Linked DNA regions of Homo sapiens: region 2 is linked to region 1. Evidence: promoter capture Hi-C in 16 types of primary human blood cells and fetal thymus (Javierre and others, 2016). All regions are on one chromosome and are shown on one strand. Each heading gives the region's core, a stretch centred on a gene start or on the middle of the fragment in contact. The rest is flanking DNA. Distances are from core to core; before and after follow the strand shown.

Region 1 (6,808 bases), core at 3,618-6,117:
AATCCCAGCACTTTGGGAGGCCAAGATGGGCAGATCACGAGGTCAGGAGTTCGAGACCAGCCTGACCAACATGGTGGTCAAAAATTACAAAAATACAAAAATTAGCTGGGTGTGGTGGTGCGCGCCTGCAATCCCAGCTACTCAGGAGGCTGAGGCAGGATAATTGCTTGAACCCAGGAGATGGAGGTTGCAGTGAGCCGAGATTGCGCCATTGCACTCCAGCCTGGGTGACAGAGGGAGACTTCATCTCAAAAAAAAAAGAATCATGGCTCCAGTCTAAGCCACAATGTATATTGTTTCCTGGTCCTTTACAAGTACATAAACCGCTACTCAGAAGACAGAGCAAAAACCAAACACAACATTCCAGGAAAGTTTCGTATAGCAATAATACCACCCCATCCTGCAGATATACTTTGTAATTCACTAATTATAGCTATTTTCTCCTTTTATGGCCTCTGAGTACATATTGGGATCTAATTTTGAAAGAGTTAATCCACCTCAAAAATATGAACACTATTGAGAGATCCACCTATTTACCCTTCTTTGAGAAATTGAAGGAAAATATCATGTAGTAAAATCCATATGAATTCTTAGCTCCACAGGCCATTAGGAGAAGAAGCTTTTGTTCCTGCATCATTGTAAGAGAGCACATGATGTGAATGAACTTCTGAAGGGCAAAGCCTGTGTCTCAAGCCTCTCCATCTCCAGCACTTGCTTGCCTAGAACAGAGAATTCTCACTAAATGGTCAACATTTCATGAAACATTAACTATTTCATAGCAGCCCCTAATCATCTGATTAAAATTAAGATGAAACTTTCCCATCTTTCTAATATATGTACATATATATATAAAATAAAATTTATAAACTTGAAAAAAAACTAGTGTTGACATTTACAGAAGAGCTGAGATTTCAGTGCCAGGCTATTCTTCCCTATTGTTTAAAAAACACAGCAGAGCAAAACTCACATTTGGAATGAAGGGAATGTTTACCAGAATCGTCTCTTTCAATACGTGCCAAGAGAACTGTAGCTGTTTCGTTAGAATAATATTTTCATTGGATGAAGGGAAAAAAATTAGAGAAGAGGCTTTTAAACTTTTTTCTTTCAGATTTGCCTTACCACACCAAACTGTTATACATAATATACAATCATAACAGGAATGCTCATTTAAAAAAAAAATCTGAATTCAAAAGAAAGTAACTGGGAGCACTGACTCCACTTATTTGGAGTCTGTATTTCCTCGTTTCTGAATAAATAAAAAATAACTAATTGTCGTTGCTTTTCAGGTTACCCTTTAAAAACTCTTAAAAGACCAGGAGGGCAAAAACCAAAATGTTCTATTTGTAGTTAGTTGCAAAACCTAACTGAAGGGAATATCATTACCTGGGAAATGATAAATTTCCACATGGCTTCAAAGGAATTTTAACATAAGACTATCAATAAATAATATTCCTAACAAGAATAAGTAGACTCTGTTGAGCACTCATGATGTGTCCGGCACCGAACTCAAGTGTTCTACACGCATCAATGTTATTTCATCTTCATCACAGCCCCATGAGGTACATACTCATTAATATCTTCATTTTAAGAAAACTGAGGCCAAAAGAGATGAAACAACTTGCCCCAAACCACAGCTAGATCAAGATTCAAGCTGTGGCTGTATGAAGCTTTATGCAACACAACCTGAAAAAAAAAATGCGAATTTTAAAAAGGGATATGTTCAGTACATTTTTTACTGTGTGCCATGAAATCCCAAAGTTGAAATGAATGTTCAGAAATCATTCTCTTCCCTTTACTTCTGTGGATCCTTTCACATCAAAAATCAAGCACCAGGCATTACCTACAGCTGGGGCAAATGGCTTTCTGGGTACCTTTTTTTTTTTGGTGAGACAACAAGTCTTTTGTATTTTTGTTTTGCTTTCTGTAAAAATCCACAATGACAGAGACTGCCTAGTAACAAGTATCAGGAGGGGCAAAGAAAGGCTTACTTTTTCTAGCCCAATAAGCCATAAGCTATAACAATAAAGTGACAGGACCAATTACTTTACATACATACCAGAGCATAAACACCAAAATGAAGGTTGTGCTTCAAAGTAGTTAAGTTTTTGAGGAGTTAAATGTTGTACTCAAAATTTCCACTGTGGAGATGATGGGAGCCCCTAACCCCGGTGTTATTCAGGGACCAACTGTAATTCCTTCCAATCCTAAATACATACTCCATGCCATTACTAAATGCCCCTTTTAGAACTGCCAGTCTTTCAAGAGAATTTTCATTACTTTAATGAGCATACTTATTGACAACCTCGATTCCCCACCTCGGAAGCCCAAGTTGGCCCCGCACAGTGCCTGGCTGTTTCCCAGCTGAGGAAGGTTTGCCACCACTGAGGCAATCAGGAAATGTGTTGCAAACTCGGAAGGCAACTCCAAAGCAGGAGCTCCAAAATTATTCTCAGTAGTGACAGCATCACTAGAATTAGTACACAGCTTGCCAAGAGCAGGCTTTTGAAGGGGAGAAATACTGATTTGAATGTATAAATACTGGCATATTTATTTTAACATTTGGATAAAGAATTGGAAGCATCAGCAAGTGTTACGTCCAAGTGAATAAGTACACTGCTGCAGGAATGATAGTGCAGATTTTGATGCAAGGTCCTGACCACTCAATAAGGTATACACACACCCTTAATGGAAATATGCTTATCCTGAAATGATTCTTGTAAAATGAATAAATCGCTTTCTATCCTGTTAACTTGCATAATTATTAAAGATTTCCTTTTCATGAATTAAAAACAGACCCAACAAATGCTAGTTGCCAAAATAATCCTTGTTTATCCAATGAAGCTCAAATCTCAGTGTGTGTCAGAAGATGGACCTATATGCACCAGAAGGAAATCTGGTGCATACACACACCCGCAAAAAAAAAAAAAAAAAAAACATATCTTTCAATGGATATATCCACTTAATAAGATTCCTCTACTCTGGGTCTTCCAGAATTGGTTGTTACGCCAAATAACTGAAATAATTACCATACATAATTAACAATACAAGATGGGTTAATGTAAGATAGTCAACATTTAACTAATAATTGAAGGACACGCACCCAAGGACAAACAGCAGAAATAAAAAACAAAAACAAAAACAAAGCCATGCCTTGGTCCTTTGTTTTTAGATACACACTTGGATACTCATCCACTGAGGTCCTAAGCAGTCTGGCTCCCTTCCAGTTGACCTGGTCAAGGGTGCAGCAGCTCAGGGCTGGGTACACGTTGTGGATAACCTTAACAGGGCAGTCAAGGGCAGTCTACCTTCCATGCAGGCAACTCCTATTAACTTCAGTAACAGGAGTCTTCACTGACAAGCAAATACTCCCAAACTGTACAATACTCTCATGTTTAACTCGACTGGAATGCAGTGCGTTTGTGGACATTGTTTGGTGTGTGTATTTGTTGTGGATTTTCCTCGTTTTTACCCAGAAACAGCTTCTCAGAGTACTGGAACAAGTAGTACACACGTGGGTCTAAAAATCACACATACAGTGTATTGTATGAGTTATCCCTAAGGCGCGCACACACACGGGTAGGTATTACCTGTACATTTGAAATCTCACTCCATAACTAATTTTTTTAGCCCAGGCTCTTCTCATTGGGTTCCTGGACAAAATCATTTCTAACCCAGCTAAGAAATATGGAATGCAACTTAGGTCAAGACAATGAGCCTGCCAAGGCTCCTGGACTTCCCACTAGTCTGCCAGTGCCTGGAGCACCCACAGCTGCACAGGAAGCTGCTGTGCCCGGCTACCTCCAGGTCCCCGCACCGGGTCGGCAAGGTGCAGCAGCCCCCAAACCCAGGCTCCGAATATTCCCCAAGCGCGCTGAGTGCGAGGTCCCCACCCGCCTCCGTCTGGGGATGCCCGGTCTTGCTCCCTAGACTAGATTCCCTCTCGAGTTATCTACGACCCTGTTCCACCGAGGGCGCTGCGTTCTCATAGCCTAGACAGACGTTCCCAGCGTTCCAGCCCCACCAGCCACCTCCGACACCCCACCGCGGCGTTCCCATCCAGCCAAGCCCCAGCATCCGCCCATTAGCCAGCTGCCGGCGGTTCCCATCACAACTCCGCTCCTCGCGCCCACCCTCTCAGAGAAGCCCCCTCCATCTTTCCCCGGCGAAAGCACATGCCTAGACCCACCCTACTCTTTCCGGGGTTCCCCTACCTCGGGCTGCCCTTCCTCGGGCTCTCCCTACCGCCCCGGGCTTCCTCTCCTCCGCACTCCCCTCCCAGGTTCCGTTCCCCTCCGCCCTGCGGAGGGCGCCCCACAAATGCGGACAGGACGCCCCTCGTTCTGCCCTGTCGGACTCCCCCACGTCTTGGTCCTGAATCTCCCGCCCTCCGGGCTCAGCCTTCCCAACATCGCGGTCCCCACACCCCCGCCAGCTCTCCAGGCTCAGGCTCCATGACTCCCCAGCATCGCAGTCCTGGCCACCCCACTACAGCCGTTCAGAGCTCCAGGGCTCCCCAGCATCCTAACCCGTCGTCCCCCCTTCCGGGCTTGGATTCGGAGACTCAACATCGGGGCCCTAAACTCCGGCCCCTGGCCTCAGGTTCCCAACGCTGCGACTCTGGACCTCCCCTCTGAGCTCGGGGTGCGAGGACTCCCCAACGCCGCGATCCTGACGTCCCCGCCTCCCGAGCTCGGGCCCCGGGGCTCCCCGACCTCGCGGTCCCAATACCCAACTCGACCCGTTCCGCGCCTCCCGCGGCGGGACTCACCGGCAGGGGCGGCGGCCGAGCCCGTGCGCGTAGCCCAGCCCGGCCCAGCCCGCGCTCCCGCCTCGGGGTCCCGGCCACGAGCTTCCCGCGGGTGGCTGTGACCGCGGCGGGCTCGGCTCGGGGGAGCGGCCGGGAGGAGGAGACCGCCGGGGGCGGGTGACGCCCAGCTCCGCCCCTTCCCGACCCGGGGGCGGGATGCGCAGACCCGCGCGCTCCGCTGCAGCCCGCGCCGCTGCCGCCGCTGCGAGGAAGTTGACTGACGCCGCTTCCTTCCACCCAGGACGCAGACCCTCGCAGTCCCTGGTAGCTGCAAAAAATCCGGAGAGTTTGAGACAGAGACGCCTTAACCGCCCTCATATTCTTTCCAAGAATTCACCTCTCAGGGGGCCATTTCCGAAGTCCCTCGGGAAGGGCGGAAAACAATAACAAACTTCATCTGCGCTGTCAAGACTGATTTAAATCCTGGCCTTTCTCTCACCACTCTCGGGTGAACGTTCAGGGTCATGCCCATGATATAAATAATGTGATGACATACCACGGAGGCCCTTGCAGACACTTCCACACCCCTAAGATACACCCGCCCAAGACTCGCGCCTCTCCCATGACTACATCACACAGACACATCTGACACTGACCTGCAGAAGATCCCACTTCTACCCTGTGTCCTCAATCCACAGCCTTCGTGGGTCCCAGCAATAGCGACCCACACATACAATCTATTGGAGGCAGGGTGCGGGGGTGGGTTCCACCTCCCGACTTGCTCCTCACCCACAATGTTCTCGGTATTTTACCATGAGAAAAAGACAGTTAAGAAGTTGGATGATCAATTAACAAATCAAGTTGGCTTTGCTTTTAAAAAGCCTTCTTCATTATCTGGAGAAAAGAGAAGGCCTGGGAAGATGGCCTGCTTACTGTAAGATTTTGTCAGACAGGCCTAATTCTGGTCTGCTTACTGTAAGATTTTCTCAGACGGCCTAATTCTGGTCTGCTTACTGTAAGATTTTCTCAGGCCTAATTCTGGTCTGCTGGTTCCCAAAACTTCTCTTATACCACCGTGTTTCAGTGACATGTTGCACAACATCTCACATTTGTACAATGTTTCCATTTTTCAAAACATTTTAGCCGAGTGTGATGGTTCACACCTGTAATCCCAGAACTTTGGGAAGCCAAAGTGGGCAGATTGCTTAAGCCCAGGAGTTCGAGACCAGCCTGGGTAACAAGGTGAGACCCTGTCTCTGCAAAAAATACAAAAATTAGATGGGCGTGGTGGCACACGCCTGTAGTCCCAGCTACTTATTCTCAGGCAAACATCACGAAGCAAAGAAAGTAATCTTAGCAGGATTATTTCAGTTCCATAAATGAAGACATTTAGACTCTGAGCAGTTGCACGGCAGGTTTGAAGCTGAGTCAGAGCCAGGAAAGAGCCCAGGGGCCTGTCTTTAGAGCCACTGATCTCCCCAGGGAATCATAGTCCAGCACTTACTTATAGGTGGATACTAGTGGAAATGTCACAGGAGGTCTTTGGCAGCTTTGCTCCCTCCATCTCTTCTTCACCCCAAAGATGTCAGGGAACTCTCCCTTAACCTCAAAAACCCGGGCTCTCCTTTATCGTCAAAAACCTATGATAGGCCAGAGGTCACAACCGTACAAGAGGGCTTATTGAGAGGGAGTGAAAACTCCTTCCACTTTGGGCCACTCTAGAAACAAAATTACAGGTTAGCACATCTAAAAGCCTATCCACAGCCTTCATCCAACTAACGTGAGCTGTCAGCCGGGAGCTGATGAGCCTCCGAAATGCATTGCTGATTATTTTTGCAGTGTTTTTCTCCCTAACAGTTAATCCATGTGGAATGTGAAGAAGTCTTAAAAGGAGACTAACAAGGCTTCTAATTCTTTCTCAATGGTAAATGTTCCTTTCTTCTTGCCCTTTATCCAAAAGGCAGATGTGAACGTGCATGTAAAGTGTAATGGGTGTCAGGCATTGTTATCTGTGCATGAGGCAGTTCTGTTTCCAAGTGACGCTGTCCAGAGCCACTAAAT
Region 2 (7,054 bases), core at 1,635-4,134, 320 kb before region 1:
TTTTGCATTTTAGAAATTCAAGGCCAGAATCAGCCACATCCCCACAATTAATAAATTTCTCCAACCTGGAAGCCAAAGGAAGCCTCCACTGGATGAAGAATCCATTGAGACTGTGAAGAATATATTTAAATTTGAACATGGCCTGTTTCTTAAAAACATGAGCACTACAGTAGCTGAGTATTAACAAATGAAACAAAGTCTAAGAAACGTAGTAAATATTTCACTATGCATTGGTAGCAGACCCATAAAAATATCATAAAGCCACATTAATGTAATAAAGTAATAAGACATGAGGAAATAAACTGCCTAATACCTGTAAGTTACAGAGCCTCTTCTACTTTTCATAAAACAAGAAAACACCAATTAATCAGAGCCATCCAAATATGAATCCTTCTGGATTCTACGTATTGCAAAAGAGTAAAATCACAAATATGCAAATGGATGCCAAAGATTTCTTTAAAAACAAAACAAAAAAAGCACACACATCACTATCATTCACTTCTATGACCTTTTGGGAAAAGTCCAGGGAACAGCATAGCTTCAAACCAGTTTCTTAAACTTTGAATCACTAGAGTATTCTGCAGACACAGCATGTATTTCTAGGATCAATTTCACAGTTAGTTTCTACTTCAGTATCGTAATCAGTTTTGACTATAAGCTGCTGTCAGTCTGAATCTGAAGGTTCTCCTCAGTCATCTCTGACAGCTAGCAAGTGAGCAGAGCACCTCAATGATGACGGCTTTTTCCAGCCTTGCCTGTGGTAACAACCTCTTTGCCACCATTAGGATTTATGGGATTTTCTTTCTTCTTCTTTAAATTGGGATTTTTTTAAGTACATCAAATAATTTTATCTAGATTTCCTATTCGGTTCAACTGGTACAGCTTTTTTCTTCCCTTAATTGAATTACTTATCACTGAAAGTTTAACAACCTCCTTGAAAGTCAGTTGGGAAAGGTAACCAATCTAACAGAACCATATGAACTCTGCCGTTATCAGTTGAGGACCCTACGCTTTCACTTAAAGAAAGGGTTTGAAGTATGACACCACTGCACATAACCAACAGGATAGGAACTGTAGATTTTTAGAGCTCTAAAGGGTTGATCATTTAGTTCAATTCCTCCTTAAGAATGAGAAACTGAGTCAGAGGAAAAGGAAATGACCTTCCAAAGAGCATCAAGTGGGTGGAAGAATTGGGCTGGGATTCAGGTCTCCCGATGTTCAATTTGGGCCCTAAAAGTGCCTTGGACATTAAAAGTTATAACTATGCCTAAAAATAAAGTGGTAATTTGAAACAAAATCAGTTTGTTTCAGAATCGTTACTCTTTCAGAGAGAAAAAATATCTACGCCTCAGGAAGTAGAATGTTGGCTTAAATAAACCCTCCTTCTCAACCCTTTTCGTTAATAATTGAATATTTAAATGTCAAAGATGATTTGAGTATTCAGAGGAAAAACTGACATGAAAGAAACAGGTTTGAACCAAAATGTCTTTTATTTGAATACTGAATACATTCAGTTAGGACATAACAGTGTGCTAAGAATAAAATTTTTTAAAGAAAAAAATAGCACTGGCAGCAATACAATTAAAATGGAAAAAGCATAATTTCTAATAATTTCAAATATAACACAAATGACAAATAGATACATTATCATTCTGTGAACTCCACTTAAGACTTCCTTTATGTGACAAGTTGTAGTTTAAGCTTACTTGAGACATGAGTATTTGGAATTTTCAAAAAATACCAAATATATAAAAAATAGACACAACAAATGGAAGAGTATATCATGATTCATTAGACACTTTTAATGAAAATAGTGCTTGACAATTAGAAAACAGTTAAAATTTTTGCTTTAGAAAAAAACTACCTCAAACTAATGTTCATATTAGAGGTGACAGTGCTATTTGTGTTTCTAGCATTCCATATTGAAGTTTATCTTTTAAATACAAAAAAAATATGCTCTGCCCATTACAGCAGGATGACATGAACTTAGTTTTCTGTTCCTCCAGATGCTCAGAGCAGCAACAAGACAAGTCTCAGGATCATCATGAGGCTGGATTTAAAATAAAACAAAGACAAAGGGAGAGTCACTTTTATCTGGCATAAGACAGAAAGGGCCATGCACTCGCCTACCCAGTAGTGTTACTAATCCTTGGCTTGGGGGCTCTCCCAGCTCAACCCCTTGGAGGATTAAAACATCCCAGACATAACTGAATTAGCCACTTTAAAATGTTCGCTAAATGAATAAGGAAAAATCAGAACCTGTTGTTCTGAAAACCTTGGATGAGGGTTTATAAGAGAAAGGTTTGGGAAGAAACAAACTTTCAGAAGCTAGTAAAATAAAGCAACTTGAAAAAATAATCGAGGACCAACTTGGGGCAGTTACTAATTCAATCTCAGCTACTTTCTATTAACTGAGGCCTTCTTCCGGATCCATAAACCCTACTTCATTTTTTCTTCCTTTTTTTTTTCTTTTTTCTGATGGAGTCTCACTCTGTCACCCAGGCTGGAGTATAGTGACGCAGTCTCGGCTCACTGCAACCTCCACCTCCTGAGCTCAAGCAATTCTCCTGCCTCAGCCTCCCAAGTAGCTGGGATTACAGGTGCCCGCCACCACACTTGGCTAATTTTTGTAGAGATGGGGTTTTGCCATGTTGGCTAGGCTGGTCTTGAACTCCTGACCTCAAGTGATCCACCCGCCAAAGCCTTCCAAAGTGCTGGGATTACAGGCATGAGCCACCGCACCCAGCCCATAAACCCTACTTCTGATTCTTCCCACCACCAAGTATCACTTTTAGAACAGGGCTATAACTGGAAAGCTGTCTTTTGTAATCACACTCCTCCTCCCCTCCCTGAAACATAATACATAGTCACACTAGAAAATTCTACACAAAAGTAGAAAGAGGAACATTACAATTATTCATCACACTATCACCCACAGAAAAACACTAACAGCTTGAAATATTTCCTTCCTGTTTTTTTATACACAAACTTTTTTTAATCACACTATATGTGGTTGTTTTCATCCTGTTTTTATACCTTATTATGTCACTAAGATTTTCCAATGCCACCAAATCATTTTTGAAAACATAAAAATGTAATGCTCATTCAATATTCCATTAAATGGACAAAACATTTTTTCAAACATCTCCTTACTGGTGAACTGTTAGGTTGTTCCTAATTTTTCAGTCTATTGTGTTTTCACTAGAAATAAAGTTGCAATGAACATCAGTCTTTGTGCATATCTCACTGCTTTGGAATAAATTCCAAAAAGTGAAAATGTCTATCAAAGGAAATAAACATGTTTATGGCTTTCAACATATAAAGCCAGCTTTCTGGAGAAATTTTTAAAATGTTATCTCTAAATTTTTATTTGGTAATATGCTTAATCTCATGGATAGAATTACTGGATCAAATTAAGAGAAACTTGAGGCCCTCTGTTTATCTTTTAAAAAATATTAAAACTTCTCTCTTAAAAACTCTTAAAAATATTAAATTTCTGTCCCTTAAAAACTTGAAATAACTGTATCACACTGTCACTCTGTCAAACTCTCTAAAAGGGACTGAGTATTAGATTTAAATGAACACATTTAGTGTTGCAGATGGGTGAATCTTGAGGAAAAATGAGGCTGAGTTTAGTTAGCTCTTTCTTCTGAAAAAGGCAAGTATGCCTATGTGACCAGATACTACAGCAACACTATGCGTATCCAATAAGAATGTTCATGGGTACATCAATATCAAAGACCCACTGAATCCATGCTATCTTAAGGTTTTTACTGTCATGCTTATTATAACAAAAAGGACTTTGATCTTTCAAATTAAAATTGATGTTTCCCAAAAATTCAGCACTTCAAAACAACAGCAGAGGAAAGTATTGATCAAAATAGTTTTACTTACCTTAAACCTGCAACCAAACCAGCAGGCATTATTTTCTTGGACCTCTTAAATCTCACACCCATTATGGTAGCCAGGAAGAAAGCTGTAACTGAAAACCAAACTAATTCATGAACCAGAGTTTCAAACATGTTATCAATGCTTGTGGGAAAACAGCGGGTACCATTTAAAGCTTTCTAACATTACAACTATTATGGATAGGTACTGAGTTGCCATTGTCTTGAAAAGATAAAGTGCTCTATTAAAACACTTCATGGCCGGGCCAGTGGCTTACGCCTATAATCCCAGCACTTTGGGAGGCAGAGATGGGTGGATCACCTGATGTTGGGAGTTTGAGGCCAGTCTGACCAACATGGAGAAACCTCGTCTCTACTAAAAATACAAAAAAAATTAGCAGGGCATGGTGGCACATGCCTGTAATCCCAGCTACTCGGGAGGCTGAGGCAGGAGAATTGCTTGAACCGGGGAGGCAGAGGTTGTGGTGAACTGAGATCACGCCACTGCACTCCAGACTGAGCAACAAGAGCGAACTCTGTCTCAAAAAAACAACAAAAGAACAAACAAAGAAACACTTCATCATCATCTACCTCGCCGAAAAGGTTTCTGGGTAAACAAACATGTTAAAATCCATTCCTGAAATATCTTCAAAAGAGAAAGACCTTTTCTTTTTCTTTTTTTTTTTTTTGTTGTTGTTGTTGTTGTTGTTGTTGAGACAGAGTCTTGCTCTGTCACCCAGGCTGGAGTACAGTGGCGTGATCTCAGCTCACTGCAACCTCCACCTCCCGGGTTCAAGCAATTCTCCTGCCTCAGCCTCCCGAGTAGCTGAGATTACAGCCATGTACAACCACATCCAGCTAATTTTTGTACTTTTAGTAGAGACAGGGTCTTGCTATGTTGGCCAGGCTGGTCTTGAACTCCTGGCCTCAAGTGATCCACCGGCCTCAGCCTCCAAAAGTGCTGAGATTACAGGCATGAGCCACCATGCCTAGCTAAGAAAGTCTTTTTCTAACCTAAATTTCTATTCAAAGAACACGCCTTGAAGGCTAGCACTGAGCTTTATTCAACTTCCCTCAGAAACACTAAGTAGCACACTTGGACCCACAGGAGACACTCATTAATGTTCAGTTAACTGAATATAAAGAAAATAGTTAATGTATCTTTTACAAGTAAGATCTGATTAATAAAAAAAAAATACTAAAAAGAAGGCTGATTGGTTTTGTTTTGTAGCATCCCATTTTGGAGAATTTGATGCCTGGAGACTAAATAATAGTCTAAGCAATAGTATTTTATTCAGAAGCATCATGTCAGCCTTTTTGGAGCTGTATCTATGAAGGGAGAGGTAGTTTTATGTAAGAGATTAGGACATCAATGCCACAATTTAAAAACAGCTTTCAAAGAAAAACTGTTTATTGATATAAAAAATAAAATGACTGACAATAAATACTTGTGAACTATTTAAATGCATATCAATAAAAATCCTAATATCACTACATCTGGCTGATACATCTAACACAACCTCATTACTAAAAATATCCCTAGCCCCTTATAAAAATAACTAAAAAAAAAAAAAAACCCCAAATCTCTCACTCTCCTTCAAATATAGAACAATTTTGTCTTCATTTATATTTTTTTCCATACACGACCAAGGCACTTTGAATAATAAATCAACTAGAGAAAATGTCCTTGGTATGGTTTTCTAAATCTTCACTGTGTATCTCTTTCAAGTGAGATGAAAGTCAAGTGTCCTGGTGACTTTAAACACACAGGTTTCCATTTTTTCTGTGGATATTCTCCCATTAAACTTAACAAGGGAAGTAGCTAAAAAAGCGTCAGCCTTGCTTTTTTAGGTTAAGTCTTAAGGCAGTGCAGAATCTAAAAGATGTTTGTGAATTAAATGAAATAATGCAAGGCTGTCTCTTTTTTAGTTATTTCCACAGCAATGTAAAAACTATGCTAAATATGCATTTAGGAGAGTTAGCAGAAAATCTGAAAATAATTCCTTGCTTTTCCTAATTCAATTTTTCTAGTAACGAGTTTTTATAGAAATATTCTTCTGAGTTGGAAGGCCTGGTAGCAGTACCATCATTTTTTATCAGGTCTTTCTAGAAAGGAATAAGTGTTGTATTCAGCCTCAACACATGCATATGGCCATTTGCCATTTGACTAAATATGTTCTAGTATATCTAGCATAGGGTATCAAAAAGATCACCTCCAATGTTTGAGTCTCTGTAACCAGGAAAAATGCCTTACTTACACAGTGACACTTTTACATCTCGTTTGTCATTGGAGACACGGTAAGCTCCATAGCCGGCCAAACATCCAACAAAAAGACCAGCAATCAAAGACGGAACACCACCTGGAAGGGGAAAAAAATATGAGATCACAAAGAGAATCCCAAAAGGAAAGGAATTCATTCCATTACTTCTAGTATGATACAGGCACCTTCAAATGTATTCCTACTTGGGCACAGTAACTGGACAAAGCCAAATTAAGAATAGGCCTCTTCATGGATACTTTCTAGGAGATGACTGTTTCCTGCTGAACCCAAATGCAAGGCAGAGGAGCCCTGAGGGCACAGCAGTGCAGTGGGGTTAGATGTCACTTGGGGAAATAAGAAAACCTGCCTTGTTCTGGTGGCTTGGACACTGATTACATGATCTTGGACAATTATTTAACTTCCTTAAGCCCTTCTTTTTTAATTTTTCCTATTCTCTTTGCCTCCTTTTTGCAATGAGGTTGTGATGATAAAAACTAAGATGCAAAGGTAGTTTTAGTTTATAGAGGTAAAGACAGAAGTGCTATACAAACCAAGCAATGGTTCCATCCTGAATAATTAACAAACCTTCATGCCTCAAGATGTCAGGACTCAAGGACTAATAGAGGCCCTACCAAGAAAGACGAAGAATCAGAATACTGACCCCAGCTACCCAGTCCCTATCCCATGCACTCACCCCACCAGTACACTCCCAGCCCCCAACCCACATACCCACCCCAGAGCACTGTGGCAAACACCAAGCACTTTCTGTGCACTGGACAGTGGGTTACATGGCAGTGACACTATGAATAAGACACACACAATCCTTGCTTCATGGAACTCACCCTATTTAGAATCTGTTAGGTTAAAATCCCTGGGGGGTAGGGTCAAAGCATCTCATTTTTAAAA

Evidence for each region. Contacts are between HindIII fragments. The CHiCAGO score rates a contact against its expected background, and 5 or more counts as called.
Region 2: a contact is called between a fragment that was not itself captured here and the fragment with the promoter of PAQR8 in region 1, in 3 of 17 cell types (M0 macrophages, monocytes and M2 macrophages). The highest score is 6.9, in M0 macrophages.

Annotation. Positions count from the first base shown.
Region 1 is chr6:52,360,210-52,367,017 of GRCh38, reverse strand. It overlaps PAQR8 (progestin and adipoQ receptor family member 8), which reads right to left and starts at 4,867. Exons shown (of 2, transcript NM_133367.5): 1 at 4,769-4,867. RefSeq lists silencers at 4,615-5,104, 5,278-5,463. The HindIII fragment of the contact is 8,624 bases long and covers 1,670-6,808 here.
Region 2 is chr6:52,681,006-52,688,059 of GRCh38, reverse strand. It overlaps TMEM14A (transmembrane protein 14A), which reads right to left. Exons shown (of 5, transcript NM_014051.4): 3 at 6,146-6,247; 4 at 3,895-3,982; 5 at 1,472-2,050. The coding sequence ends at 2,011. It also overlaps the pseudogene GSTA8P. Among named protein-coding and RNA genes, the nearest start is that of TMEM14A, 13 kb to the right of the region's middle. The HindIII fragment of the contact is 2,362 bases long and covers 1,704-4,065 here.